Regions from separate parts of the Homo sapiens genome. Here region 2 is linked to region 1. The links are contacts of gene promoters, found by promoter capture Hi-C in human tissues and cell types (Jung and others, 2019). All regions are on one chromosome and are shown on one strand. The core of a region is centred on a gene start or on the middle of the fragment in contact, and the rest is flanking DNA. Distances in the headings are between cores, read along the strand shown. Region 1 holds the start of NPBWR2 (neuropeptides B and W receptor 2). Region 2 has its middle 24 kb from the start of PCMTD2.

The links. The method cuts DNA at HindIII sites, captures the fragments that hold promoters and counts their contacts. A contact is called where the count stands out against the background at its distance.
Region 2: a contact is called between a fragment that was not itself captured here and the fragment with the promoter of NPBWR2 in region 1, in 3 of the 25 tissues and cell types used here (IMR-90 fibroblasts, dorsolateral prefrontal cortex and spleen).

The regions. Positions count from the first base shown.
Region 1 is chr20:64,106,172-64,109,212 of GRCh38, reverse strand. It overlaps NPBWR2 (neuropeptides B and W receptor 2), which reads left to right and starts at 1,648. Exons shown (of 2, transcript NM_005286.4): 1 at 1,648-1,849; 2 at 2,291-3,041. The coding sequence starts at 2,382. RefSeq lists an enhancer at 1,600-2,100. The HindIII fragment of the contact is 24,186 bases long and covers 1-3,041 here.
Region 2 is chr20:64,277,905-64,280,945 of GRCh38, reverse strand. It overlaps the pseudogene IL9RP5. Among named protein-coding and RNA genes, the nearest start is that of PCMTD2, 24 kb to the right of the region's middle. The HindIII fragment of the contact is 9,812 bases long and covers 1-3,041 here.

The sequences.
Region 1 (3,041 bases), core at 399-2,898:
ACTGACCCCTCCCGACCCCACGAACACCCCAAATCACAAAATTCAGCCCCAATGCACCCTCTCCTCACGGCTGCTAATCACCATCCCCTGACCTTGTGGGCGTCAAGCTCCACTTATGTGACAAACTGTGGCTACAAGCCCCACGCTCCCTCGAGACACACCCACAGATCCCCCCCACCGCCATCCCCAAACTGGCTGAAGAGGAGTGTGAGATATCTCAGCAGGGTTCCCTGACCCCGGACTCAACATCCACATGGCACAGCCCATAGAAGGGTAGCTCGGGGCCCACCCACAGTGTACCCTCAGGCTGGCGACATCAGGGTACTCAGGGCGACTGCCCAGGCTCCTGTCCTAACCAATAGACTTGACAGAGCAACTCTCAGGAAAGAAGGCCGACCATGAGTGTGCGGTGACATCCTTGCAACCCCACAGGCAGCGGGCACAGTCTCGATGGGCAGACACATCTCCCCAGACTGAAAACACACAGTGACCAGGCACGGTGGGTCATGGCTATAACCTGAGCACTTTGGGAGGCTGAGGTAGAGGCTGAAGCTCAGGAGATCGAGACCAGCCTGGGCAACATGGTGAAACCCCGTCTCTACAAAAAAAAACACAAAAATTAGCCAGGCATGGTGGCACATGCCTGTAGTCCCAGCTACTTGAGAGGCTGAGGTGGGAGGATCACCTGAGCCCAGGGAGGTCAGGGCTGCAGTGAGCCATGATAGTGCCACTGCACCCCAGCCTGGGTGACAGGGCAAGACCCTGTCTCAAAAAAGAAGAAAGGAAAGAAAACACAGACCCTCTGACCCAACACGTCTCCGCTGAGGAGCGGCTCTGAGACTGGCGACTGCTCGTGTCAGCTGTGGCGTTGCCTGCAAAGCAGGTCCAGATGCGGCCGAGCTGCACACACACGGGTTGGATAAGCCAGGGTGCGTCCAGCAAGGAAGAAAAGCAGGGAGAAGGGAAGGACTTAAAGACCAACCCAGAGCAGAGTGTGATGCTCACCACCTCTGCAGGACGGCGGGAGAGTTACGTGTCAGCGTGAGAACGTCTTCTCTGCAGCCTTTCACAGCTTGCCTAGGCTGAGTTCCTCTTTTAGCAAAAGACAAAAAAAGAAGGTGGGTTGCCTATGGCCAACAAGTTCTGCTTCCACATGAGGGCATACAGACCCCCCAGATGCCCACACTCAGCCAAGGACATGTAGACCCACTCAGATACAACGCAGAGCTCACCCACAGAGACCCCCATACAGGCAGACACAGGCCCACACACGTACATGTCCTAACTGGCACACACACACAGGAACACACCATGTACACACACAGGGTGGGGCAGGAGACCCACCAAGACACCCATGTTCACAGATAAGGGTGCCCAGGCCCACAGTGACTCCCGGACAGAGGCACAGATGCCTTCAGTGCCCTCTGCCCGAAGACCTGGGCACACCCAGAGGCCCCTGCATGGAGTCCCTTCCTGACACACAGGCGCACACGTGCCTCAGCCGCCCACTGAGGAGTCTGCCTGGGTAAGTGAATGCTGAGGAGACCCTGGGACAGCCGACTGCAGGCGCTACTGCAGCTCAGGGGAAGGTGGGGCCTGCCTTCCGGGCTCCACGTCAGCAAGGGGGATCCGCCTCCCTCCCTCACCAGCATCAGCACTGACACCAGGCTGGGAACCTCGCAGCCGGGGCTGAGGCAGCCAGCAGGGCAGGTCTTGAAACTCCTGAAACCTCAGCTGGAGGTCTGTCAGTGAGGACCACACCTCGCCCTCCATCCCTGCGACTGCCTGTACTGGCCAAAACCAGGAACACACCAAGGCTACCAACTTCTGGACTCGAAGCACTGGACAGGTCAGTGGAGAGAAGAGTAGCTGGACCAGCAGGGTCTGCAGCATCTCTCGGGAGGGTGTGAGGGAGGGTGCAGACTCCAAGACCCCTGAGGGAAGGACCTTCAGATTCAAGGGAGCCAGAGATGAGCTTGGGAGGTGTGTTTCCAAAGGGACCGCTTGATTCTACGCAGCCCGTGCATCTGCGGGTTGCTGGGGCAGGGACGGATCCACATCTCTTCCCAGGAGGGTGGCCAGCAGCTGCTCTCTGCGGGAGGAGGGAACTGATCTGCTGAAGTCTCACCAGGAAGAGGCGGGAGGAGGCCCCCACACACCCCACCAGGCTCCCTCTGGCCCCATGTCCTTGACCTGGCAAAGTGGCCGCAGTCTCTGCCAGAGAACCTGGAGTGGCTGTGCCCTAACAGACGGCCGGATCTCAAAGTCTCTGGTTGTTTTTCTTTCCTAGAATCCAGCCCAAGGAGGCCCCCAACCAGATACCCAACTCCAAGGCACCTCCCACCTGCCCAGGGCGCAAATCGTCAACGGTCCCAGCTACAATGCAGGCCGCTGGGCACCCAGAGCCCCTTGACAGCAGGGGCTCCTTCTCCCTCCCCACGATGGGTGCCAACGTCTCTCAGGACAATGGCACTGGCCACAATGCCACCTTCTCCGAGCCACTGCCGTTCCTCTATGTGCTCCTGCCCGCCGTGTACTCCGGGATCTGTGCTGTGGGGCTGACTGGCAACACGGCCGTCATCCTTGTAATCCTAAGGGCGCCCAAGATGAAGACGGTGACCAACGTGTTCATCCTGAACCTGGCCGTCGCCGACGGGCTCTTCACGCTGGTACTGCCCGTCAACATCGCGGAGCACCTGCTGCAGTACTGGCCCTTCGGGGAGCTGCTCTGCAAGCTGGTGCTGGCCGTCGACCACTACAACATCTTCTCCAGCATCTACTTCCTAGCCGTGATGAGCGTGGACCGATACCTGGTGGTGCTGGCCACCGTGAGGTCCCGCCACATGCCCTGGCGCACCTACCGGGGGGCGAAGGTCGCCAGCCTGTGTGTCTGGCTGGGCGTCACGGTCCTGGTTCTGCCCTTCTTCTCTTTCGCTGGCGTCTACAGCAACGAGCTGCAGGTCCCAAGCTGTGGGCTGAGCTTCCCGTGGCCCGAGCAGGTCTGGTTCAAGGCCAGCCGTGTCTACACGTTGGTCCTGGGC
Region 2 (3,041 bases), core at 168-2,667, 170 kb before region 1:
TAGCAGCTGCTTAATAGGTAGGGGGCTTCCTTTTGGGGTTTTGGAACTAAGAGGTGATGGTTGCACAATATTTTGCAGGTTCACAATGTCACTGAATTTTACATCTTAAAACAGTTAATTTTATATTATGTGGATTTTACCTGAATAAAAAAACAAAATCCCACCCCAGCATTCCCTCACCAGGGTGAGCCCTCTTCCCACATGCTCCCTTAGCCTGGGGTTCAAGGCCCTCCACAGCCCAGCGCTGTCTAGGCCTGGCCAACCACATTCTGGACACATGTCTGCCAGCTCCTAAACCCATGGCCGTTTCCTCATTCCAGATCCAGGTCACCTTCTCTCGCCTTCACAGACACCCAGGGATCAGCAACACCTCAGGGCTCACAGGGCCCTTTGAACCTTGTCCTACTGTAATCCAGACCTTGACACATGGTCTCCAAGGGTTGTCCCATCTCAATAAAAGGAAATCAGAGTTTTCTGAGCACCAACGTGTGCTGGTGTCTTGCTCAGGTGAACTCCCTGCTATCTATAGCTAGTCCCCTGTGCAGAGCGGAGGGCCAGGCTCAGGTGGCTGAGTGACTCACCTGACCTGCAATCCCACAGCCTCCAGTGGCTTCACACTCAGGTTCCAGCCCAGAGCCAGGGCTCCAGGTGCCACCCAGGGAAAGTTTGTGAGTCAGATGAACGTGTGTCCAGCCCACACAGGAGAGGCATTGAAGCTGTGCGGTCACTTTTGTGATCATGAGGTGGTCCAGGCCCCATGAGAAACCTGATGAATCAGGCAGACCCTGTTTATGTACACCAACCCAAGGCTCCCCAGAGGCCAGCTCCAGGAAGTGGATTCACACTAGTATTTGATACTTAGTTAGAGCTGAGGATGCCTGAACCTTGCTTCCGTCCACACCCTCCCAATCTCTGGATGCTAAAGATACATTCTCAGGCCTGCCTCAACCCTGCTGACCAGGATCTGGTCTGAGGCTCCCCACAAAACCTCTGAGACTCCCCACAAACCTCAGGGGCTCGAAAGGCACACAGGGTGGGGAGGATGCTTATCGGAGCCAGGCTTTTGCCTTTGGGGGGCCTCGGACTGCAAGTACTTTTTTTTTTTTTTTTTGCCCAGGCCACAGGGAGCATGGGAACTCCCAGGAGAGGTGTTCCCTGGAGCCTGGGGTCCAGAGAGGGACCCAGCCTCTGTTTTACCCTGCCTTCAAAACTTCAGCACCCCCAACCCCATAATAGTCTCATCCCAGCCCTCACTGGGCAGAGGATCCCAGCACCAGCCCCATCCCCAGCAGTCAGGCCCTCCCGTGATCTGCCTGGGGCACCCTGGAAGGGGCCATGGTGCCTTTGGGGCCAGCAGGAATGTGGAGATCACTGGCAGAGGCAGGGACAAGGTTATAGGTTGAGTTCCATCCCTAACAATTCATATGTTGAAGCCCTAACACCCAGTACCTACAAGTATGGCATTATATGGAAATAGGGTCTTTGCAAATGATGAAGTTCGGAAGTCATTAGGGCCATGCTTCATTCATGATGATTATGTCCTTATCAAAAGGGGAATGTGGACACAGAAACACGCACAGGGAAGAAGGTTTGTGAAGACTGGAGCTTTGCTGTCACAAGCAAAGAAACTACCAGAAGCTGGAGAAAGGCCCTGGAACAGATGCCTCCCTAGGGCCGGCCCTGCCAACACCCTCATTCCAGACTCTGGACTTCAGAACTTCGAGACAACAGATCTCTGTGGACCAGGAGGGATGGGGTGGAGGTGGCCTCCCTGAAGATGTTCCCTGAGTCTCCACCCCACTGTACCCAGAGCTGACCCTGAGCCTCCATCCTGCTGTCACTGGAGCCTGGAAAACCCAGGGCTGCCCAAACCCCGTGCCTCACATCTCCCCGGGCTCCTCCTCCAGCTATCAACACTTTGGAACAGCCGTTATGTCCCTTTAATCTCTAGGAAAGGTGCCTCAGGAAGGCACAGGAAGAGGCACAAGATGGTGTCTCAACTGTGTCCACTGGGCCCAGGCTGGCCCTTTAAGGAGGTGAGGGCAGGCCGTGGGATCACATCCCTCTTCTCAGAGAGGCCAGGGATAAGGCCAGAAAGGGGACAGGAGGAAGTGTTGGGGCGGAGGGGTGGCAGTGCTGTGGGAAGAGGATGCTGAGGGCAGTGGCCCCTCCCCACAGGTGCCAAGTGGAGTGGGTGAGGAGGAGCCTTCAGCCTCCATCTGGACCAGACCTCTAACCATTGCATAGGTGCCACTTCTTGGGAGGTCCAGTCCCAGCCAAGGGTCAGCTCCAGAGATTTTATTTTCCCCAAAATGGACATGATGCAGCTGGCTAAGTCATGGTTCTAGAACTTTCAGGAGTGACCCTGCTACCTGATAGGAGTGAGCAACACCCCCTGGAGGTCCTCATGTAGCCCGTGCCTCTGCCTGTGACCAGCTACCACCCAAGCACCTCCTCACACAGTCTCTGGGCCCTGCTGGTCACAGGAAAGGCTACCGGCAAGGGCTGGGATGGCCCAGGCTCTGCGTGTTTCCTGGGATGGCAGAGGGGTGGCCCCCACCACCTTAGCGGATCAAGGCACAGTAGTTACTGCTGCTGCCCTCTGAGTCTGGGGGAGCTGGCCAGGTGGGGGATATGGGGCATTAAGACAGCCCTGATCTCTGACACAGAACAACAGGCCTGGGGCAGGGCTCATGCTGTTCTCCCTCTTGACCATCAGAACAACCACCTAACCACCCAGTGCCCAGCTGCCCAGGGCCCTCCTAGATCAAAGGGATGCCCTGCCCGTGTGGTCTATGACTCCACCCCTGCTCTAACCACCCAGTGCCCAGCTGCCCAGAGCCCTCCTAGATCAAAGGGACGTCCTGCCCGTGTGGTCTGACTCCACCCCTGCTCTAACCACCCAGTGCCCAGCTGCCCAGGGCCCTCCTAGGTCAAAGGGACGTCCTGCCCGTGTGGTCTATGACTCCACCCCTGCTCTAACCACCCAGTGCCCAGCTGCCCAGGGCCCTCCTAGGTCAAAGGGACGTCCTGCCCGTGTG